7 separate regions of the Homo sapiens genome follow, and all the other regions are linked to region 1. The links are contacts of gene promoters, found by promoter capture Hi-C in blood cells and fetal thymus (Javierre and others, 2016). All regions are on one chromosome and are shown on one strand. The core of a region is centred on a gene start or on the middle of the fragment in contact, and the rest is flanking DNA. Distances in the headings are between cores, read along the strand shown.

Region 1 (3,269 bases), core at 265-2,764:
CAGTCCTACCCATGTATTTAAAAACAATAACAAAATTAAACCTCCAGCAACAAAACACACACGTATACACACACTCTACAGACAATGCCGGACCAGGGCTCCACCAAGCAGCTTCTAGGCTAGAACTCGACCACCGCTGGGTCCTGAGATATTCCAGGACCACTGCCCCCTCCCCCTCCACTTCCAACCTCTCAATGTGCGAATGAGATTTTCAGAAAGGGAAGCACCCCGTTCTGCCTGCCAGCCCTGGCAGGAAAGAGAATAAAGGACGGGTAAACCAAACAGAGAAACTGGCTTCTGGAAATTCTTTGGGTTTGGGGGTTTGGAGGTTTTGTTGTGTTGTTTGTTTTTTTTTTTAAATCTGAGGGGTGGTATTTTGTTTTCCCCTCCCCCACCCCTCAGATCCAGATGGGCCAGGGGCTTCCAGAGAGAACCCCCACCACCATCAGGGCCCAGCGTCGGGTCCATCCTCGAGTCCCAGCCACCAGAAACACAAGAGCTGGGGGCAGAAGGTCCCCAGGCACCCAGCCTGGCGGTGGGCCGAGTCTCCAGCATTTTAAGGGTCTCTCCTGAGCCCGGTCGGCTGGTTTGGGCTTCAGACTCCAAAATCGAGCCCCGCGAGCAGGCCAGGAGCGAGGCGCCCTGGTTCTCCCCGTTCCCCCGGCACCCCCCACCGCCCCCCAGGCCCTGGGCTCCAGGTGCAGCGCCAGGGGGCAGCCAGGGAGGGCGCATCTCGGGCCCCGAGGAGAGGCGGGGGTGCAGCCGCGCAGAGCCACTCACCGTGGCGGACGCCAGGCTGTTGTCGGCCAGCGTTAGGTGGTGCGGCTCCCAGCGCCTCAGGAATTTCGAGGTGAGGATCTTGCTGAGAAAGGTCCGCGGGTGCCGGATGACACAGACCTGAATGTCGCCCTCCTGCAGCAGTTTGTACCTCATCCCGTTGCAAAGCAGAAGAGCCCGGCGGCAGGGCACGGCGCCCATCTTCGTGCCTTCGGGGGCCGACACGTCGCCCCCCAGCAGCGGCTTGGTCTCCTCGATCTGCCGGGGGTCGCCGCCGCCGCCCGAGCTGCTGGTCACATCCATGGCCGCGCCGGGGGAGGGGGCTGGGGGCGGGGAGAGGGGGCTGTCCTGGGCTGCTGGGGCGGCGGGGCCCCCGGATCCGGCGGCCCGCACCCCCCCACCCCCCGGGAAGGTGGGGGGGTGTGGGGCTGGGGGCGCCCGCAGGGGAGGGGGCGCTGCCCGCGGGGGGCGGCGCGTGCGGCGGGCTGGGCCGGCCTCGGCGCTTCCTGCGGGGCTCCGGGCTTCCTCCTAGCTCGTCGGGTGCATGCTCGCGGCGGCTGACCGGGCTCGGCGGGCGACGGGGAGGGGCGGGGGAGGCCGAGGGCGGGCCGGGGCCAGGCGCGGAGGGCGGGCGCCGGGGTGGGGGCGGCGGGGTGGGGGCGGGCGTGTCTCGGGGCCCCGCGCCGCCGCGCGCGTGTGTACAGAGCGTGTGTCCGCGCGGCCGTCCGGGCGAGAGTGGCCGCGGGCGGGGCGGGCCGCGCGCCGGGCTCCCGGAGCCCGGGGCGCCCGCGCGATTGGTCCCCGCAGGGTCATGTGCCCGCCCCTCTGACGTCAATGGCGGCAACGGCGGCGGCCGCGGCGGCTTCGGCCTCTCGCGGGCGGAGTCCGCGGTCCGGGCGGGGTCGCGGCCCACGACGGGGAGGCGCGGCCCGACGGGAGGGGCAGCCCCTGGGGAGGGGGCTGGGGCGGGCGAGCCCCGCGGGGTCCCGGCCCGCCCCGCCTGGAATGTGGGGAGGGGGCGGGGCGCGGGGGCGGGGCGCGTGACGTCACGCCAGCCGCGCCCCCGCGGGTGCCCGGGCGGGAGCCCAGCCAGGCTGCCGGAGCCTGGGGGCCCGCGCCTCACCCACCCCCGCCGCCCCCGGGCCGGACTCGGACGGGTAAAGAAGGATACCCGAGGGCCGGGGGCTGGGTGGAAGGACGGGGACTGGAACCCTCGACCCCTGACGCCCCCTCCGCTGTCCAGGCTGTCCAGCGGGCTGGCCAGATGGGGCCGTGGGACGGGGACGCCTTCCCGACTGAAAGTGTCCCCGCGGTGATCCGGAGGATGAGCCCACCCTGCCCTGTCTCCCACTGCGGGACCCAGCCGGCCTCGAACTCCTGGCCTTTGACGTCTGCTGGCTTTGGCCTTGGGGGTCCTCAAACCTTCTGGAGAGAGGGGACGGTCCGCCCATCCCCCTTCTTTCTTCTGCCCAGGGAGACAGAGCCTCTTCTAGGAACCCACTTAAAGCACCCCCCAACCTACACAGCCACCCCTCTTGTGCGCACCCCAGCAGCTCCCCCTACTTCACCTTCCCTGGGACCCCACCTGGTCATTTTATCTGAGTTCACAGGCCCAGCACCAGCCCACGAGAGAACCATATTCGATTCTCTTGTGACCCAGGGTATCAGGAACTGCAGCCTGGATGCAAAAAGCTCCCTTTCTGCCATCACAAGCAGCCGGCACCTAAGGCCACCTAGCAAATGCTCAGCTCCTCAGCCAGGTTTTCTTATCTCCACGTGCTCCTGCAGCTAATAACGTTAAAACCCTAGATTTTTGCCTTTTTAAGTGAAGGCGCCTCTGTAGTGAACACATGAATGTGTGCAGCGTGTGTTGAACTGCGTCGTGAACACTGCGGAATATCCACAGCATCTGTGCCGTTGGTGGAAATTATTCACCCCCCCTCTCCCAAGAACAGGCAGCATGAAGGTGCTCCCCAGAGGACCCTCTCCCCGAGCCTGGCCAGGGTTTCAGGCAGGGGATGAAAGGCAGGTCCCAGGCTGCATCCCTCACCAAGGAAAGAAGACTCACATCCAGCCTGCCCAGGAGATGCCTCCTTGGGGAGGCACAATTAGATTAGAAAGTTAGAAATTCCTTAGCTCCCCACAATTTGCTGCCATTTCCTTCCAGTTTTGAGCTTGAACAGCCTTGAGAAAACCACCAAGCATGAAGGGGCAAGCCCTAGATATGTGGGTGTTGGGGGGTGGTTGGGGCCAAGAAACCCCCCAGTCCATTAAGCGGGTGGGATTAGATCCTTTGTTCAAATATTTTCATTGAGCTCCTGCTGTATGCTGGTCACAGGCCAGGCACTAGGGTATTAATGGTAATGACTATAATAACCACAGTGGCCAGAGGCTTCCTATGTGCTAAGAATTTTGTACGCACACATCATTCTCTTCTCACACCCTATGACATAGGTGCTGTCCTCATCCTCAACCACAAAGCATGGAGGTCA
Region 2 (3,269 bases), core at 554-3,053, 490 kb before region 1:
ATAGAAGCTAAGGAGAGCCAGTTTTTTTTGTTTTTGTAAATGACTGGCTCTAGAAGCAGCAGGGTCCCAAATCCCCTCACCTGGAAGTGTCTATCTCAGCTGTGTAGGAAGGGCTCAGTCATCTGGGATTCAGCAGGGTTCTTAAGAGCTGGTCGTATGACCCAGCTTGGCTTGGTTGCAGAAAAATACAAAATGACCCTTCTTATACCATGAAGGGATCTTGTGTTTTCTTCAGCAGGGAAGAAAACTGTAACAACTCAAAGAAGTAAATTAACCCACCCAATTTTATAGAAGAAGAAGGTGAATTCTGAAGGGTTTGGGGAGTTGGACCCTCGAGATTGTTACTCCCCCCCCAAGATGCCAAAGGTCTCTCCCTTGCCACCCTCTCACACTGCCAGCCAGAGAGCAGGAGGGGGAGATCAAACCAGACTTAGCCCTAGCTAGGGAGAAGCAAACCGCATGTAATATTTCAAAATGAAATCAAACTGCAGTGCCAGGTTGAGGATCCACTAACAATCCAGTTTTGCTTGTAAACATCCCACTTTGAGGGGCATAGCCTCCCCTGTCACCCACTTCCTCCCACCTGTGTGCTACACGACAGGCTGTACACCTGCTCTCCAAGCCACCCAATCGGTTTTACAGTGATTCCATCCAAACCAGGAAAAATCATTTTTCATTCTTTTTGAAGCCAGCAGCCAAACCAAAGTACAACGCCAGCCCAAATCGAACATCTTAATTAAAATGCCTCTTACCTGATTTGACTGCTTTAATGGGGTAAGTGGCATGAGCAAGAAAGTTGGGATCGCTGAACATATCTTCTTCATAAACCACAAAGCGCAGAAATGCCAGGTTTGGGTCATAAATTTCAAATGTCACCTTCTCCTGTGTTGGAGCCCAGATAGGGCTGAGGCCATTATCATCTGGAAGGAGATCAAAGCTCATGAGAGGCCACATTGGAGCTGCCCCCTTCTGGTAAGACAATCTCCGCATCCTTCAGCTGTGAATCCCCTTAGCAACCATGTAAATAAATATGCATCTATGCCAAGATCTAAGAAAATCTGAATAATTATCTTCACTCCCCCACCCCACCTTGAGCAATCCTGGAAGCTGCTGTTGCAGGCTGGTCCCTTGGTGAGCAGAGGAAGGAGACCACCTCCCATCTCCCCGCCCCAGGATCAGGGACAAGGGAACGGGGGAGGTGTTTGTTTGCAGAGCAGGAAGGTGGATTTTGGAAAAGACAAAAGGGGAGGAGAGCCTGGGAGCCACATCCACCAGCAGGGGGTTCTACAGCTGGCAGGGGAGAGCCCAGCCTCACAGAGCAGGCAAGCAGCAATCCTGCCACTCTCCATAAATGCCAGTTTATTTGGTCAGCATCTGAGTTGTTCATTGGGCTACTTTTTACCAGGGGCAAGGATCCTGTGCTTTAGAAGGCCCACCAATCACGGTTCCCTCCTGGCTTTTCCTGGAAGAGCAAGCATTCCTCTTGTCCCTCCTGCCCTCTAGGGGCTAAGATCTCCCAGGTTAGGCTGATCCTCTGGGTCAGGTCAGCCACGTAGGTTCACCCCCTCTCTCTGTGTCTCTGCCTCTTGGCCTTTGACTCAGGAGATTAATCAGATTGGGCTGTTGCACAGAGAGGACCAACCTAGTGTCAGGGCCTCACCTACGATTCCGGACTTGAGTTACAGGCAGGCAAACAGCACTGGGGAAAGTCTAAGGATTTCAGAAAGTGGCCCTTTGTATGTATCCCCTCCTCAAGCTGAACCATGTGGGCAAGAGGGAGGAAAGAAAACCCTGGGACAACTAAAGAGCATTGCAAAATCCCCCACGAAGAGCACTCCCACAAAGGATTCACTGGCCGGACGTTTAAAAGCAGAGGGGCCAAGGTGACTGACTTACTCACAACCGTCGTCTTGAACTTGTTGTTGTCATACTCGGCTCCACAGATCTCCACTTCTACAAAGGGACAGGCAATACTTCGTCCAAGTTTGGGGAGATGGCGAGCACCGAGAACCTGGGACACCAAAGGGAAGCATTGGAACCCCCCTGGGGTCCTGAACAGGCAGCCTAGCGTGGATTGCAGCTGGGTTCTAGAGTGACACTGGATGAGTTCAATGCCAGCCCTAATTTTCCTAGATTCACTGGAAAAGCCGGAGCAACCTTCTGCAGTGGATGAAGGTGGACTGTGGTAGATCCCACAGTTCCTCAGCATCAGCCTGGGTCTCGGCCCCATATGCCACCTGACTCAACAGGTAAAACTCACCTGAGCTCATGAATGCACACATCCATGCCCAAGCAGGTGCCTCTGATCAAGGCAGAGCTTAATCACTGGATTTCCACACCCCTAGGAAAGGCTGAGGAACAGTGTGGCATTCTTTTTATAACTGCTGTTTATTTAAAGGCCTGTGTTTACGTATGCTTCTTCCCCCTACCACCCGCCCGCCCTTAACCTTAGGAGAAATGCAATTCATTTCTCTACTTTTCAAAAATTCTTACAAAGCAACAACACTTTCTCTGAAAGTCAGATGAATTTTAAAAAGCCCTGGAATTGGACAAAGTAAGGGAAAAAACTTCTCCATTAAGACCAAATGGCTGTTTCCCATGTTTTCTTTCTCTTTCCGGCCAGAGGCTGACCTCACCAGGACCCCAGAAAGATAGGGTCATACCTCACCCCCACAGAGGACAAGGGGAAGTGGGTTTGAGGAGGTTTCCCCTCTCTTCCCTCTTCTCCCAGAACGACCCCGGAGTGTACTGTAAGAAAGAAAGATCCTCAAACACTGCCTGAATGGGGATCGTTTAAACAAGACAACCAGCCTCCCTAGACATGGGTTCCCTGCTCTCAAGACAGCATCGGCCCAGCCCCCAGGGAGGGCGGCTGGCTCCCCTGGCAGGAAGGGAGGGCTGGCTTTACCTTGACTGTCAGCGTCATCAGGATCTTCCTCTGGGACTCGGGTGGCATCGGGTCATATTTCTCTGTCCTCATGCTCTCAGGCTGCAGAACGTAGCCCGTGCGCCCATTGAGAGAAAACAATGCGTGATTCATCTGCATGTACTTATCTGGGAAGGAAAGTGAACGCCTGCTGTAAGTCAGGCATGAGCACGCTGGCCCCCTAGGCCAGGAGTTTCTAGGTGGGGAATGAATTTCACCTTTTCCCCAAATTAATGTGAGGCAGCTGTTCAAATAGGTATCTCACTCAAAGAAAATATAGGGTTTCTAGACAGCAAACTCCCAGACTGGGGAACACCTTTCCAAGTATGTCACCAAATCCCGA
Region 3 (3,269 bases), core at 420-2,919, 420 kb before region 1:
CAAACCCTCAGTTTTCTTTACCTGTAAAATGGGAGAACCACTACTATGCTCCTAGGGCTTCCCTGAAAGTGAACAACATACCTGCAAAACACCTGGTTCAGTAAATACTTGATAAAGAATTAAATGGCAACTGTGTAGCAATCAATGGTAAATGCTTCTCCCATCTCTCTCCTCTTCTGACCTACCCTTTTCTCTTTTTCTATTATTGGATTAATGTGGAATATTGGGGGCAGGTCAAAGGATGCTTGATAAGCAATAAAATGGGATAATTTTTCCAGGAGCTCATTAATACAAAAATGAAATGAGCTTTTTGCACTGAGGAACCTTGTAATGGAGCTGATATTGAAAATGGGCATTGGAGTCCTCCAACTGGGGCTGTTTGGATGCAGGGTTGCTCATTTCCTAAGAAGAATGAGTATTTCCCTGTAAGCAAAAATCGGTGCCCATTGTCTCCATCCTTGCCTCACCTGCTCTACTATATCCCATCACTCATGGAGTGGCTTTACTGCCCAGACCCACCAATAACTTGATTACACAACAAAATAAATTTAATGATGTATGGAAGGATGGATGGTTGGAGAAACAGAAGAAAAAAGAGCCAACTCTGACAGCTACACTACCAGGACTTGCATACAAAATGCCACGGTCCTGGTACCCTACACAAGGAATCTTTCATAATATTTTCCAAAAGACATACATGCATTCATTTCACTAGGGAAAAAATGGGCTGCAGTATGGTCAGGGAAATAGGGAAAGCTGGACTAATGGAAAACAGGTCTGAGGGTAGATGTTCCAAGTCCAAGAGCTCAGTAAACATGGTCTTTATTGATTACATTCTCTGCTAGGATTGAGACGATGGTCCTCAGATATGTCCATGATCCCTCTGTCTGAACTAAGATGTACTCTGGAGGCAAAGGATTTTCTTGTGCACTATTCCACGGAACTCAAAGGCAAGCCACGGCTTCATGAGAGAGGCTAAGTCACTCCGCATTCATAAAATTCCCAGGCTGAGCCATGAAACTTACCACAAACTTATCTTTAAGGAACTTGGCACTGCTCACTTTAAAGTTGATCAGGGGCAAGATGGTCTTCAACTCTCGGAGACTGATGCTGCAAAAGAGGGAGACCCAGTTCTGTCACCTTGAGGGTTTTCAACAGCACAGGATTTAGCTGCTCCCATCAGTTCCCACCTCAGGCAGCCCTCTATGAGAGAGCCTGGTCAACAGTTATTTATGGACCACTAACTGGGAACAAGACATTGAGTCAAGGTAAGGGTGACACTTCAATGAGCAAGGCTCAAGCAATGTCCATGGACATGGGTCACATAGCAGACTCACAGGGTAGGGTGATGCCCCAATAAGGAGGGCTGGTCTCCACCCTTCAGGTATGTCCAGGGACATAGGTCACATAAGAGATTTATAGCGTACAGTGATGCCCCAATGAGGAGGCACCTACACTGGAGATCCCCAGTATAGGGTGATGTCCCAGTGAGAAGGGCTGGTCTCCACCCTTCAGGAATGGTCATGGAGGAAGGTCTTGCAGGAGATTCAGTGTGGGCAGAAAATGATGTCAAATGACCAGATAATCTCAATACAAAATGCCACAGAAATGCCAAAGGCCCAATATAGGTGTTGACATGATGTGATTTCTGCCCAGGACTCTGAATGTCAAAGTGAAGAAATTCAATGAAGCCTGGGTAAACATCAGGAGTAACTATGACACTCTTCATGTAGCCAAATGCTTTGTCACCTAATTAGCGACACACATGAATGGATGAACAAGACTCCTACTGACTCTACCTGCCACCCAGAGGAACCAAAACCACAGGACGGGCTTGGCAGAATCAGCCAGGAAAGACCCAGCTGAATTTGACTCTAGTCTGACACTGTGAAGAGACAAGAGGGATGCAGAGTAAGTGGGGACCCCCTGCACCCCCAAAAATAAGTAAAAAAATAAAGGTTTCTTTTAATGCCACTGGGGTTCAGAGCAAGGCAAGGTCACTAAGGGCCAGGGAGGGGAAGTGGGAAGGAACAAGGCCTACATGAGCACCTACTGTGTGCCAGGCTGCCCTGGGGTCATCCAGGCATTAAAGTTGCCTAATTGTTCACCAGATTCTACCTTCTGCAAAGTACACATGGTTGACCCCCAGGGCTCAGAACAGCCAAGGGTGGGGTGTCACATGGGTACACAACTCAGGGCTTAGAGCTGGATGGCAGGCAGCAGAGCCTGGATTTGAATCAAATTCCAGTGCTCGGTCACAGGAATCTGCATGAGTGTTTCTTCGAAGCCACATAGTGAGGTTCAGCTGAAGCGGGAAGCGAGGGCCAGGCACGGTGGTGGCTCACGCCTGTAATCCCAGCACTTTGGGAGGCTGAGGCGGGCGGATCACGAGGTCAGAGGATCGAGACCATCCTGGCTAACACGGTGAAACCCCGTCTCTACTAAAAATACAAAAAAAATTAGCCAGGCATGGTAGCAGGCGCCTGTAGTCCCAGCTACTCAGGAGGCTGAGGCAGAAGAATGGCGTGAATTCGGGAGGCGGAGCTTGCAGTGAGCCGAGATCACGCCACTGCACTCCAGCCTGGGTGACAGAGCAAGACTCCATCTCCAAAAATAAAAAAGAAAAGGGAGGGAAGCAAGGGAGAACACGTCCCAGGCAAAAGGAGCAGCAGCAGCAGTAACAATAGTAACAAAAGCTGAAACTTCAATAGTGCTTATCAGGTGACAGGTGTTGTTCTAGGTGGTGCCTTATATGCACATTCACCTGTTTGATGTTTGAACAATTTTACAAGGCAGGTACCATGATCATCTCCATCTTCCAGGTGAGGAAACTGAGGCACCGATCAGTTTGGTACCTTATCTGTGCTAGCCTCAAACTCCAACCCAGTGTGCCCATAATGACCACACCTGACTGCCTCCAAGCGAGTAGCTCACACAAGAAGGAGAAGTGAAATTAGTGGGGTGGGTGGGTCAAGAATATGAGATCCAGACCCTTCTGGCTGGAGCCAAGTGTCCAGCAGAGCTGAGACAGAGTGGTCAAGAGAGGAAGCTCGCCCCACCTTGCAGGAGAAAACCACCTAGTTTCCCTGTACCATCCTCCCAGCTTCTGCTGTGGCATGCGGAAGGAAGTAGCGCGTCACTGCCCAGCCGCTGCCCTGGAGACGGTCCAGTGTGACTCTGGCCATCCTGTGTCCCCACCTCCAGCCTTTCCTCTGGTTCTAAGGGCCTCTGTAACAGCACAGACTTCAAATGACAAGATGCTCCCCACC
Region 4 (3,269 bases), core at 306-2,805, 390 kb before region 1:
AATAGAGAGGGCCAGTTTCGTGGCATTGACATGAGGATTTAAGGAGACCAAGTTCATGGCCAAGTGCTTAGTGCAGTGCCTGGCACACAGCCTGTGTTTAAATGTTTGCTGCTATTATCCACAGATTCTCACGATGATGGTCACGTCCGTTCATTCAGCCATTAGGTCAACAAAGAGTAGGTAAAAGCCAGCGTGCCAGGCACTGTTCTGGGAGCTGGGGATACAGCTATGAATAAAACAGACCAAATTCCTGGCCTCGAAGAATTACATTCTAATAGGAGGAGACAGAGACAAGTCAATATTTATTACACTTGGCAATCACAAGTGCTACAAAAACTAAACCAAAGAAGAGCAAAGCATGGTGTGTGACCAGGAGGGAGGGGCTCTCATAGAAGGTGTTATCAGGGAGGCCTCCCCAGAGGTGGTGACATCTGGGCTGATGTCTGAGATAGAATATTTCAGGCAGAGCAAATAGTAAATGCAAAGGCCCCAAGATGGAAATGTGTATGGTTGGTTGTAGGAAGAGCAAGGTTGTCACCAGCTGGGACACACTGCGTATGCTCTCTGAAACCCTCATGACCCGCAGTGCCTGTCCATCTCCCCTCTCCTGCCTGGACATTCTAGTCACGCTGTCTCTGCACTTGCATATACCCTCAGTCATCCAGAAGCCCGATGCCCCCCTCACCCTTCCCATCCCCCTCCACTATCACACACTGTGTCTGTCAGTCTCCTCCAGGGTCCTCTGGAGTCAGCTGCAGCCCTTGGCAGATGATTTTGCCATTTCATTCATATATATACATATATAAAATATATGTGTGTATATATATATATACACACACACACACACACACCCCACACATTTTTTTGTTGTTGTTTTTTAAGACACAGTCTTACCAGGCATGGGGGCTTATGCCTGTAATCCCAGCACTTTGGGAGGCTGAGGCCTATGGATCACTTGAGGTCAGGAGTTCCAAGACCAGCATGGCCAACGTGGTGAAATCCTGTCTCTAATAAAAATACAAAAATTAGCCAGTGGTGGTGGCATGCGCCTATAATCCCAGCTACTTGGAAGGCTGAGGCACAAGAAACGCTTGAACCCAAGAAGTGGAGGTTGCAGTGAGCCAAAAGTAGCACCACTGCCCTCCAGCCTGGGCCACAGAGCAAGACTCTGTCTCAAGAAAAAAGAAGAAGAAAAAGACAAGACACTGCTGGAGTGAGTGGCATGATCACAGCTCACTACAGCCTCAACCTCCTGGGCTTAGGTGATCTTCCCACCTCAGACTCCTAAGTAGCTGGGACCACAGATGCGTGCCAACATGCCTGGCTAATTTTTGTACTTTTTGTAGAGACAGGGTTTCATCATGTTACCCAGGCTATTCTCAAATCCCTGGGCTCAAGTGATCCCCCTGCCTCAGCCTCCCAAAGTGCTGAGATTATAGGCATGAGCCACTGCACCCGGCCACTATTATATATTTAATCTCTCCACTCCTTGAAGGCAAGACAGCACTGCCCGTTCATGGGTCCACAGCAGGAAAGTGCCTGGCACCTAGTGGGGATGCCACCGAGAGGTAGAATAAGCCCCCTAGAGAGCGATTTGGCACTCACTACTGAGGCTGGAAATACACACGCCCCCCCACTCAGAGGTTCCTTCCCCATCCACAGCTACCACAGCACCCTCTGCAATTTCAAAGGAGAAAGGGACTCAGCACAAATGCCCAGCAGGAGAGAGTGGACAAAATGGCTCTTGTCACCAATGGAATGCTCTACAGCAATTCAAAAGAAAGAAACACCTCTACATATCGATGGAAATAAACAAAAACTAGGTGCAATGTGGTGTCCTGGATGAATCCTGGAACAGAAGGAGAACATACGAGGAGAAACTGTTAAAGTCCAAATAAATTCTGGAACTTTGATAGCGATGTGGTAATGTTAATTTCTCACTTTTGGCAAAGGTATCATGGCAATATAAAACAGAGAAATGGGCCGGGTGTGGTGGCTCACACCTGTAATCCCAACACTTCGGGAGGCCAAGGAGGGTGGATCACCTGAGCTTAGGAGTTCGAGACTAGCCTGGTCAACATGGTGAAACTGGCTAGGCACGGTGGCTCACGCCTGTAATCCCAGCACTTTGGGAGGCCGAGGCGGGCAGATCACCTGAAGTCAGGAGTTCAAGGCCAGCCTGACCAACAGGGTGAAATCCCATCTCTACTAAAAATACAAAAATTAGCCGGGCACGTTGGTGTGTGCATGTAATCCCAGCTACTCAGGAGGCTGAGGCAGGAGAATCGCTTGAACCCGGAAGACAGAGGTTGCAGTGAGCCGAGATCGTGCCACTGCACTCCAGCCTGGGTGACAGAGCCAGACTCCGTCTCAAAAAAAATAAAATAAAATAAAAACTACTAACTACCCCATTAATGAATGAAAATCACAGATACAAAAAAGACAGGGCAGAGGGGGCAGTCCTTGTCATCATTAAAAGCCAGGTCCTGTGCTTTTCTGACTATTCCTGAGACTAGCAATGTTTGAGAGAATGGCCCACACAGGAAATTCATTCTGTGATCTCCTGTAAAATCAGAATGCAGTTGGTAAGATACAGCCTCTTATCTCCTGAACTCATGATCCACCCACCTCGGCATTCAGAAAAGAAAAAGGAATGCAAGTTAAGGGGAAATAAATTCACATTTGTTGAAACCTTCTATGTACCCGACTTCACCAGGCACTCAGGAAAATGCCACATTGTTCAATCATCACAGCAGCTTCGGAAGGCTGAGGCTGTGACGGCTGGCTTCTATATGAGGAAACTGAGTCTCAGACGACTTTTATAACTTGCTTAAGGTTGTAAAAGCAACCTTTTCTCAAGACCCTCTGCTGACCCGCAAGGACTCGCTGATCAAAACTGCAGCTCATAAAAGCAAAGGAAGAGGCACCACACCACAGCACAGAATAAAAATGACGCTTCTCGGCCGGGTGCGGTGGCTCACGCCTGTAATCCCACCACTTTGGGAGGCCGAGATGGGTGGATCACGAGGTCAGGAGATCGAGACCATCCTGGCTAACATGGTGAAACCCAGTCTCTACTAAAAATACAAAAAAATTAGCCGGGCGTGGTGGCAGGCACCTGTAGTCCCAGGAGGCTGAGGCAGGAGAATGGCGTGTACTTGGGAGGCGGAGCTTGCAGTGAGCCGAGATCACACCACTGCATTCCAGCCTGGGTGACAGAGCAAGATTCTGTCTCAAAAAAAAAAAAAAAAAAAAAAAAAAAATGACAT
Region 5 (3,269 bases), core at 469-2,968, 370 kb before region 1:
CTTCAAAGAGAACTACAAACAACTGCTCAAGGAAATAAGAGAGGACACAAATAAATGAAAAAAGATTCCATGCTCATGGACAGGAAGCATCAATATGGTGAAAATGGCCATACTGCCCAAAGTAATTTATAGATTCAATGCTATTCCCATCAAGCTATCATTGACTTTCTTCACAGAATTAGAAACTACTTTAAATTTCATATGGAACCAAAAAAGAGACCACATAACCAAGACAACCCTAAGCAGAAAGAACAAGCTGCAGGCATCATGCTACCTGACTTCAAACTATACTACAAGGCTATGGTCAACAAAACAGCATGGTACTGGTACCAAAATAGATATACAGACCATTGCAACAGAACACAGACCTCAGAAATAACATCACACATCTACCACCATCTGATCTTTGACAAACTTGACAAAAACAAGCAACGGGGAAAGGATTCCCTACTTAATAAATGGTGTTGGGAAAACCAGCTAGCCATATGCAGAAAACTGAAACTGGACCCCTTCCTTACACCTTATACAAAAATTAACTCAAGATGGATAAAAGACTTAAACATAAGACCTAAAACCATAAAAAACCCTAGAAAAAAACCTAGGCAATACCATTCAGGACATAGGCATGGGCAAAGACTTCATGACTAAAACACCAAAAGCAATGGCAAAATTAACAAATGGGATCTAATTCAGCTAAAGAGCTTCTGCACAGCAAAAGAAACTATCATCAGAGTGAGCAGGCAACATACAGAATGGAAGAAAAATTTTGCAATCTATCCATCTGACAAATGGCTAATATCCAGAATCTACAAAGAACTTAAACAAATTTACAAGAAAAAACAACCCCATCAAAAAGTGGACAAAGGATATGAACAGACACTTCTCAAAAGAAGACATTTATGCAGCCAAGAAACGTAGGAAAAAAGCTCATCATCACTGGTCATTAGAGAAATGCAAATCAAAACTACAATGAGATACCATCTCATGCCAGTTAGAATGACGATCATTAAAAAGTCAGTAAACAACAGGCCGGGTGCGGTGGCTCACGCCTGTAATCTCAGCACTGTGGGAGGCTGAGGCGTGTGGATCACGAGGTCAGGAGATCAAGACCATCCTGGCTAACACGGTGAAACTTCGTCTCTACTAAAAATACAAAAAATTAGCCAGGCGCGGTGGCAGGTGCCTGTAGTCCCAGCTACTCAGGAGGCTGAGACAGGAGAATGGCGTGAACCCAGGAGGCGGAGCTTGCAGTGAGCTGAGATAGCGCCACTGCAGTCCAGCCTGGGCAAAAGAGCAAGACTCCGTCTCAAAAAAAAAAAAAAAAAAAAAAAAGTCAGGAAACAACAGATGCTGGAGAGGATGTAGAGAAATAGGAATGCTTTTACACTGTTGGTAGGAGTGTAAATCAGTTCAACCATTGTGGAAGACAGCGTTGCAATTCCTCGAGGATCTAGCACCAGAAATACCATTTGATCCAGCAATCCTATTACTGGGTATAAACCGAAAGGATTGTAAATCATTCTACTATAAAGACACATGCACACATATGTTTATTGCGGCACTATTCACAAGAGCAAAGACATGGAACCAATCCAAATGCCCATCGATGATAGACTGGATAAAGAAAATGTGGCACATATACACCATGGAATACTATGCAACCATAAAAAAGGATGAGCTCATGTCCTTTGCAGGGACATGGATGAAGCTGGAAACCATCATTCTCAGCAAACTAACACAAGAACAGGAAACCAAACACCACATTTTCTTACTCTTAAGTGCGAGTTGAACAATGAGAACCCATGCACACAGGGAGGGGAACACCACACACTGGGGCCTGTTAGGGGTTGGGGGACTAGAGGAGGGATAGCACTAGGAGAAATACCTAAAAAAAGAAAAAAGAAAACGGAAACATCATCCTGAAACCAGTTCCCAGCCTAGGGAATCCATCATCTTCTCAGGTGACTAACACTGGGAATGGCCTTCCCTTTTGAGTCCTGAACCCCGACGTGCAAAACCATCCCTTATCGATGATACTGCCAACCAAAGTGCTCATAACTGAGCACTAACCTAAAGGTTTTACATACCCGATCTCTAGTCTTTACACCCACACACGAGGAAGGTACCACCGGTGTGCCCATTTGACAGATGCAGACACTGAGACCCAAGGAGGGAGTCACACAGACAGAATGGGAGACTCAGGAGGCAAGCCCAGGCTTGTTCAACCCCAACACTGCTGTCATACGTGGTGCCATATGACCTTCCCCAGCACACTGAACACCTCAGGGTCATTCCAGGAAGTGCACACTCATGTCCCTCTGGTACACAGGTTAAATGTGGCCTTAGACCACAAAGCACAGCCACTAGGGCCAGGAAGGCCACTGTTAGATCAGTTTCGCTGCTGTTCCCTGGGCTGCTTCTCAGGTGCATAACCTCCCTTGGTGCCTCTTAGAGAGGGAAGCAAAAGTTACCTTCATTTTCGTTATAAATATAGTCATGTACAAAATTATTTGATCAATGTTGTGCTTGCCTCTCCCACTAAACAATAAGGTCGATGAAATTAAAGACCCTGTCTCCTTCTATCAGAACTCAATACAGTGCTTTGCCCTGAGCAAATGATCCATAGATAGTCACTGAATAAATCAATAACAGGAAGAATGAATTAATGAGAAATAAATGCACTTTGCTCAGGGCCATTTTAAAGAGCAACATCACCAGCAAAAAATAAAAAGAAAGAAATTGCAGAAAATAAGGCACTAAGTGGACGGCAGAAAGGACACCTGTTTGCAAAAAGAAAGCTAAAACAGGAAGGCAGAGTGTCATCTTGTTTGACCTCAGCAGGGCATGTGTGAATGGGTGACCCAAATTTTTCACCAGTCTGCATCACCAAGAATGACCACAGAAGGGCCAGAACTACTGGTTTGCAGGTTGCAAATAAGTTGGAGCAGAAAGGCAAATTCACCAATACTGATGCTGCAAATAACGAAGGCCAAGCATAGATGCTGAGAGAAAAACGGTCTCTTATGAGGCTGCTCATGGCCACGTTACGTGTTCTATAGACTAGAGTCGTCTGGGATAGGAGAGAAGCATGGGCTGGGCACGGTGGCTCACACCGTAATCCCAGCACTTCGGAAGGCTGAGGCATGCCACGAGAATCAAGAGATAGAAACCATCCTGGCCAAGATGGTGAAACCCCATCTCTACTAAAAATACAAAATTAGCTGGGCGTGGTGGTGAGTGCCTGTAGTCCCACCTACTCAGGAGGCTGA
Region 6 (3,269 bases), core at 574-3,073, 370 kb after region 1:
TTGGGTGGTCGTGGTAATGATTTTCATATTTCCTGGTCTACTCTTAATCAGTCCCTTAGCAAATTTTACTATAAAAATATTTAAATGGGACAGGCGCGGTGGCTCACGCTTGTAATCCCAGCACTTTGGGAGGCCGAGGCAGGCGGATCACGAGGTCAGGAGATCGAGACCATCCTGGCTAACACGGTGAAACCCCGTCTCTACTCAAAATACAAAAAAATTAGCCGGGCATGGTGGCGGGCGCCTGTAGTCCCAGGTACTTGGGAGGCTGAGGCAGAAGAATGGCATGAACCCCACATGCGGAGCCTGCAGTGAGCCAAGATGATGCCATGCACTCCAGCCTGGGCAACAGAGCGAGACTCCGTCTCAAAAAAAAAAAAAAAAATTTTTAATGGGAATCTCAGGGAAGAGGGGGAGGTTGAATGTTCTAAATAAAGGTGGGAAGCAAAAGTGGCCATTCTAGAGTATGAAAGTCCGTGAGTGGTTATAGTCTCTGAAGAAGGTGGGCAGTTTTTTATTTTTCCCTTTTCCTGCCAAAGACACACATAACTTGCTCTGTAACAACCCCTCTTTTTTCAAAGAGCAGAACATTTGGCAACTTGCTCTTCCACTATTTAGAACACAGAGCCAAATCCACTGTCATTGATGTCACAGTGCTGCCAAAAATACAGGCTTTGAATGGCCCTCCAAATTGACTGAATCCAGGGAATTTAATTTTCATGACCTCATATTCCTTTTGAATGGTTTTGGCATTAGTAGAGCAGATTAATAGAAGTTTTGAAGAAAGCTTTCTAGTAACTAAAACTTGAGAAACTGAATAGGTTACCCTGCAAGTGTTAAATTTTTTTTCTGCTATCACCTCCCAGGTAGTTTTGTCGTTAGCTTTAGGTTTTGTTTTGTTTTTTGTTTTGTTTGAGACGGAGTCTCGCTCTTTTGCCCAGGCCCTCCACCTCCCGGATTCAGGCAATTCTCCTGCCTCAGCCTCCAGGGTAGCTGGGAATACAGGCACCCGGACCACGACCATGCCCAGCTAATTTTTGTATTTTTAGTAAAGATGGGGTTTCGACATGTTGGCCAGGCTGGTCTCAAACTCCTGACCTCAGATGATCCACCCGCCTCGGCCTCCCAAAGTGCTGGGATTACAGGTGTGAGCCACCGCGCCTGGCCAGTTTTAGGTTTTAATAAACCACTAGGGAGCTCTGCATGGGCATACTACTATGAAAATGAGGCTGGCCATTCAGATCAGTTCCTCAGCAAATCAGAATTTCTGAATTTTTTCAATTTCTTTTCTTTTTCTTTTTTTTTTTTTTTTTTTTTTTTTGAGATGGAGTCTGGCTCTGTCGCCCAGGCTGGAGTGCAGTGGCGCGATCTCGGCTCACTGCAAGCTCCGCCTCCCGGGTTCACGCCATTCTCCTGCCTCAGCCTCCCGAGTAGCTGGGACTACAGGCGCCTGCCACCTCGCCCGGCTAATTTTTTGCATTTTTAGTAGAGACGGCCTTTCACTGAGTTAGCCAGGATGGTCTCGATCTCCTGACCTCGTGATCCATCCGCCTCGGCCTCCCAAAGTGCTGGGATTACAGGCGTGAGCCACCGCGCCCAGCTGCTGAATTTTTCCAATTTCTATAGTTTTTCTGGGGCTACTAAAAAGAGCACAGTTTAAAAAATTATGCTAACTACAAGCGTGTCTTTTTTACTGTGTTCTTTCAGACCAAATCACACCTTCCTTCCCATACTTAAAGAGGTGCCTTTCTTTACACCAGGATTAAATTCCTCTTTCTTCCCTGCAACAGGCCTTTCCTGCCGCCCAGGCTGGAGTGCAATGGTGCGATCTTGGCTCACTGCAACCTCCACCTCACGGGTTCAGGTGATTCTCCCACCTCAGCCTCCTGAGTAGCTGGGATTACAGGCGTCCATCACCACACCCGGCTAATTTTTGTATTAGGGTTTTGAAATGGGGTTTCGCCATGTTGGCTGGGCTGGTCTTGAACTTCTGACCTCAAGTGATTGACCCGCCTCAGCCTCCCAAAGTGCTGGGATTACAGGTGTGAGCCACCGCACCCACCCATCTCCCTTTAATTTTAAAAAATAGATATGGGGTCTTGTGACACTTCCCAAGCTGGTCTCAAGTGATTCTCCTGCCTTAGCCTCTCCTGTGAGTAACTGGTATTACAGACGCAAGCCACCACTCCTGGCTTTTTTTCTTTAAAATACATTTTATGTGTTAGAGGAAGTTTACAGTCACAGCAAAATTGAGGAGAAGGTACAGTTCTGTACGCTTCCATTCTCCGTTTTTGCAAAGTGGGATCTTACTATAAGTAGAGTTTCTGGTATCTTGACTCAATTCCTATGTTGACTTTTTATAAACATAACTAGCCAAACCCTTGTCCCTTCATGTTTCCACTCAATCATGCTATCGGGCTTTTACCTGCTAAATGCAGGAATAGTTAGTGTGAAGGAAGTCAGGTTCTAGATCCTCCAACTTCCCCATGTACTTGCCGTTAGGTTATTTAATTAATATTCATTTAGCAAATCTTAGTTAAGACTTTTGGTATACTTCCCAGAAACTTTTTTCTAATATGCAAGGTCTTGCACTGTTTCCCAGGCTGGAGTGCAGTGACACAATCATAGCTTACTGCAACCTTCAACTCCTGGGCTCAAGGGAGCCTCCTGCCTCAGCTGGGATTCCAGGTGTGAGCCACGGTGCCCAGCTGTTTTCAATAGATCTGAAGGAAGACCAAAACAAATTGTCAACTGATAAAACATTTAAATGTTTTTGGTTAATACTTACTAGCTTGAGATACAATAAAACCCCTTTTATTTGCATCTTCCTATTTATGTGAACAAGGTACCTAAGCTTACACGTATGAAAAAAGTTGGAATAGAATTATAGCTGAATCCGTCTCATTGGAGCAATCACAGTGCTAGAGAACTTAGATACCAAAATTTTTTTTGAGACTTGAGTTTTGCTCTCCAGGCTGGAGTGCAGTGGTGCCATCACAGCTCACTGCAACCTCCGCCACCCGGGTTCGAGCCAGTCTCCTGCCTCAGTTTCCCAAATAGCTGAGATTACAGGCGCCCGCCACCACACCCGGCGAATTTTTGTATTTTTAGTAGAGACACGGTTTCGCCATGTTGACCAGGCTAGTTTCGAACTCCTGATCTCAGGTGATACACCCACCTCGGCCTCCCAAGTGCTGGGATTACAGGCGTGAGCCACCGCGCCTGGCCTAGATACCGGTTTTCTACAGCAGAAATAGTCACACTTTCTA
Region 7 (3,269 bases), core at 503-3,002, 350 kb after region 1:
GGAGGCTGAGGCAGGAGAATCCCTTGAACCCGGGAGGCGGAGGTTGCAGTGAGCCTAGGTGGTGCCACTGTACTCCAGCCCGGGCGACAGAGCATGACTCCGTCTCACAAAAAAAAAAAAGAAAAGAAAGAAAAAAGATGTTGGCAGTGCCATGCTCCCTCTGAGGGCTCTAGGGAAGAATCCTTCTTGCCTCTTCCAGCTTTTGGTGTTGGCCAGCCAGCCTTGGTGTCCCTTGGCTTCTAGATGTGTCACTCCCAGATGGGAAGAAGCTTGCTGGGAGCCTGTGTTCCTTCTCCTTTTCTCAGCACACCAGCCATATTGAATTAGGGGCCCACCCTAGTCCAGGGTGACCTCATCTGAACTAATTATAATACATCTGCAGGGATCCTGTTTCCCAATATGGTCACATCTGAAGAACTGGGACTTAGGACTTTGACATACCTCTTTAGGAGCCACAATTCAAACCAGAACAGGTGTCATTCCTCCAAAAATGTTTCTGGGTCAAATAAATATGGGGAATACTGGTTTATAAAAGTTTTTTTGTTTGTTTGTTTGTTTGTTTGAGACAGGGTCTTGCTCTGTTGCCCAGGCTGGAATGCAGTGGCATGATTTCAGCTCACTGAAACCTCTGCCTCCCAAGATCAAATGATTCTTGTGTCTCAGGCTTCCCAGTATCTGGGACTACAGGCACACAAGAGCATGCCTGGGTAATTTTTGTATTTTTTTGTAGAGACGGGGTTTCACCATGTTGGCCAGGCTGGTCTTGAACTCCTGGCCTCAAGTGATCTGCCTACCTAGGCCTCCCACAGTGCTGGGATTACAGGCATGAGCCACCGCACCCAGTCTACTGTATTGTTATAAGAGGAAAATATGTCTATCAGCTCAAAGAGATGAATGGGCCCCTCTCAAAACACCTGGAAGAAATGACCACCTGGAATTTTCCAGAGCTTATACTCAATGGGCAACGAGATGACCTTTAAAATCTCAAACCAGGAGGTTACAAAGATTACTAGGTAGAAAAAGAAAAAAAATTTTGACTGTCTTCAATGCTTTTTACCAAAAGAAAAACACATGTCATATTTTTTGGTGGAAGGGCCTTTTTGTAGCCCATATGTTGATGTTGATGTGTGATCTTTTTCTTCCCATCACATGAGTTAGTGAAGCTGAGAATAAATATGTTAGGGTGTAAGTGGCACGATGCTGCACTGTCTTGTAATGAAACAACAATAGAAAACAACATCTTGACATTAGAGAAGGTAGCCAAGATCTGTAGTGCAGGGTAGACCAGCGTGATCCAGTCAGCATCCCAAACGAAAGCAAGCGGAGCAGAGCTTAAGAGCAATTGCTGGCCAGGCACGGTGGTTCATGCCTGTAATCCCAGCACTTTGGAAGGCCGAGGTGGGTGGATTACAAGGTCAGGAGTTCGAGACCAGCTTGGCCAACATAGTGAAACCCCATCTCTACTAAACATACAAAAATTAGACGGGCGTGGTGGCACGTGGTCCTGTAGTCCCAGCCACTCGGGAGGCTGAAGCAGGAGAATTGCTTGAACCCGGGAGGCAGAGGTTGCAGTGAGCCAAGATCACGCCACTGCGCTCCAGCTTGGGCGACAGAGCTAGACTTCGTCTCGAAAAAAAAAAAGAAAAAAAGAAGAGTTGCTTTCTAATCAGTGTAGAGGCCAAGGTCTACTACTGCCACCTAGGAGCTACTTAAGCCACAAAAACGCCTCCCCGATCCCACTCCTCGGAAGTGCCTTCACCTCTGAGCCTCATCTATGAAATGAGTGTAACACCTGCCAGAAAGAGGTTTGGAGAGGATTAAAAAGATGTGTGCATAGTGCCAGGCACATAGCAAAGGCTCAATAGATGGGAATGATTTGCTCAAAAGAAAGTGGGCATGACGGCCCTTGCAAGCCACTGCACAGATGTGGTGGCAACCCTAAGTTCATAGCAGGGCAGAAGCTCAGTGCAACAACGTATGGGCTCCCCAAACACACACACACTCCATGGTGTGCACCCTATGGTACTGTTTCCGGTGTTTGAACAAGAACAACTCCATTTTGAATATGGGCTGGGTAAAATGAGGCTGAGACTTGGTGGGCTGCATTCCCAGGAGGTTAGGCATTCTTTTTATTTGTATTTTTTTCTGAAGCAGAGTCTCGCTCTGTCACCCAGGCTGGAGTGCAGTGGCGTGATCTCGACTCACTGCAACCTCTGCCTCCCAGGCTCAAGTGATTCTCGTGCCTCAGCCTCCTGAGTAGCTGGGATTACAGGCACCTGCCACCATGCCTGGCTAAACTTTGGATTTGTAGTAGAGACGGGGGTTTCTCCATGTTGGCCAGGTTGGTCTCGAACTCCTGACCTCAAGTGATTCACCTGCCTCACTTAGTCACAGGATGAGCTAGGGTTGGCACAAGATACAGGTCACAAAGTCCCTGCTGATAAAATAGGATGCGGTAAAGGAGCTGGCCAAAACTCACCAAAACCAAGATGGCGACCTCTGGTAGGTCTCACTGCTCATTATACGCTAATTATAATGCATTAGCATGTTAAAAAAAAAACAACTCCCACCAGCGTCATGACAGTTCACAAATGCAATGGCAACGTCCAGAGAAGTTACCCTATAGTCCAAAAAGCGGAGGAACCGTTAGTTCTAGGAAATCCCTGCCCCTTTTCTGGAGAACTCTTGAATGATCCACCCCTTGTTTAGCATACAATCAAGAAATAACTATAAGTACACTTAGTCGAGAAGCCATACTGCTGCTCTGTCTACGAAGAAGCCATTCTTTTTTTTCTTTACTTCTCTATTAAACGTGCTTTCACTTTATAGACTCTCCCCAAATTCTTTCTTGCATGAGGTCCAAAAACCCTCTCTTGGGGTCTGGATTGGGAGCCCTTTCTGTAACAGTACTAAAGGTGTGTGTGTAGCTTAAGGTGTTTTTCAGAACAGTATTTCTTTGCTGACTCATGGCCACTCCATAAAATCTGTGTTAAAGGTGAGGTTTTTCCCAGAACCTAATTTTTTTCTGACTTCTTGGATTGGGATGATGACTTCGGCTTTTCTCGGAAGGCCTTGGTCACACCGCTGGCCGATGAAACAAGGAATTGTGCACACTGGGTCTCAGCTCTCTGCGTTTTGAATATTTCTGCATTAGTGACTGGCTTGGGTCCAGTCTCCACCAAGAAGCCACTTATGACCCTTGGACAAGTCTTTATTCCTTTTTAAGTAAGCTTCTGGATTCTGCCGGTCCTGTTTGGGGTCCCTGGGGC

Evidence for each region. Contacts are between HindIII fragments. The CHiCAGO score rates a contact against its expected background, and 5 or more counts as called.
Region 2: a contact is called between a fragment that was not itself captured here and the fragment with the promoter of CMIP in region 1, in 1 of 17 cell types (total B cells). The highest score is 5.0, in total B cells.
Region 3: a fragment that was not itself captured here is called in contact with the fragment with the promoter of CMIP in region 1 in 4 of 17 cell types (neutrophils, total B cells, naive B cells and 1 more); the score reaches 21.1 in neutrophils.
Region 4: a contact is called between a fragment that was not itself captured here and the fragment with the promoter of CMIP in region 1, in 9 of 17 cell types (naive B cells, neutrophils, total B cells and 6 more). The highest score is 14.0, in naive B cells.
Region 5: a contact is called between a fragment that was not itself captured here and the fragment with the promoter of CMIP in region 1, in 5 of 17 cell types (neutrophils, total B cells, M0 macrophages and 2 more). The highest score is 11.8, in neutrophils.
Region 6: a contact is called between a fragment that was not itself captured here and the fragment with the promoter of CMIP in region 1, in 2 of 17 cell types (naive CD8 T cells and naive CD4 T cells). The highest score is 6.2, in naive CD8 T cells.
Region 7: a contact is called between a fragment that was not itself captured here and the fragment with the promoter of CMIP in region 1, in 2 of 17 cell types (naive CD8 T cells and naive CD4 T cells). The highest score is 7.6, in naive CD8 T cells.

Annotation. Positions count from the first base shown.
Region 1 is chr16:81,443,053-81,446,321 of GRCh38, reverse strand. CMIP (c-Maf inducing protein) reads right to left here and starts at 1,514. Exons shown (of 21, transcript NM_198390.3): 1 at 781-1,514. The coding sequence starts at 1,080. RefSeq lists silencers at 522-821, 1,252-1,301, 1,372-1,721, 1,832-1,931 and an enhancer at 2,141-2,673. The HindIII fragment of the contact is 9,361 bases long and covers 1-3,269 here.
Region 2 is chr16:81,937,543-81,940,811 of GRCh38, reverse strand. It overlaps PLCG2 (phospholipase C gamma 2), which reads right to left. Exons shown (of 33, transcript NM_002661.5): 28 at 2,909-3,054; 29 at 1,897-2,011; 30 at 753-920. Among named protein-coding and RNA genes, the nearest start is that of SDR42E1, 72 kb to the left of the region's middle. The HindIII fragment of the contact is 7,086 bases long and covers 1-3,269 here.
Region 3 is chr16:81,867,055-81,870,323 of GRCh38, reverse strand. It overlaps PLCG2 (phospholipase C gamma 2), which reads right to left. Exons shown (of 33, transcript NM_002661.5): 6 at 1,026-1,110. Among named protein-coding and RNA genes, the nearest start is that of PLCG2, 89 kb to the right of the region's middle. The HindIII fragment of the contact is 9,375 bases long and covers 1-3,269 here.
Region 4 is chr16:81,828,230-81,831,498 of GRCh38, reverse strand. All of the region lies in intron 2 of PLCG2 (phospholipase C gamma 2), which reads right to left. It overlaps LOC124903731 (a long non-coding RNA gene), which reads left to right. Exons shown (of 2, transcript XR_007065139.1): 2 at 1,663-1,913. Among named protein-coding and RNA genes, the nearest start is that of PLCG2, 51 kb to the right of the region's middle. RefSeq lists an enhancer at 1-255. The HindIII fragment of the contact is 6,701 bases long and covers 1-3,269 here.
Region 5 is chr16:81,810,107-81,813,375 of GRCh38, reverse strand. The region is part of intron 2 of PLCG2 (phospholipase C gamma 2); the gene reads right to left. Among named protein-coding and RNA genes, the nearest start is that of PLCG2, 32 kb to the right of the region's middle. RefSeq lists enhancers at 2,011-2,330, 2,421-2,510, 3,011-3,130. The HindIII fragment of the contact is 4,423 bases long and covers 1-3,269 here.
Region 6 is chr16:81,077,786-81,081,054 of GRCh38, reverse strand. No RefSeq gene overlaps it. Among named protein-coding and RNA genes, the nearest start is that of C16orf46, 2.2 kb to the right of the region's middle. RefSeq lists an enhancer at 2,735-3,269. The HindIII fragment of the contact is 2,067 bases long and covers 790-2,856 here.
Region 7 is chr16:81,097,214-81,100,482 of GRCh38, reverse strand. No RefSeq gene overlaps it. Among named protein-coding and RNA genes, the nearest start is that of GCSH, 2.5 kb to the right of the region's middle. The HindIII fragment of the contact is 2,961 bases long and covers 272-3,232 here.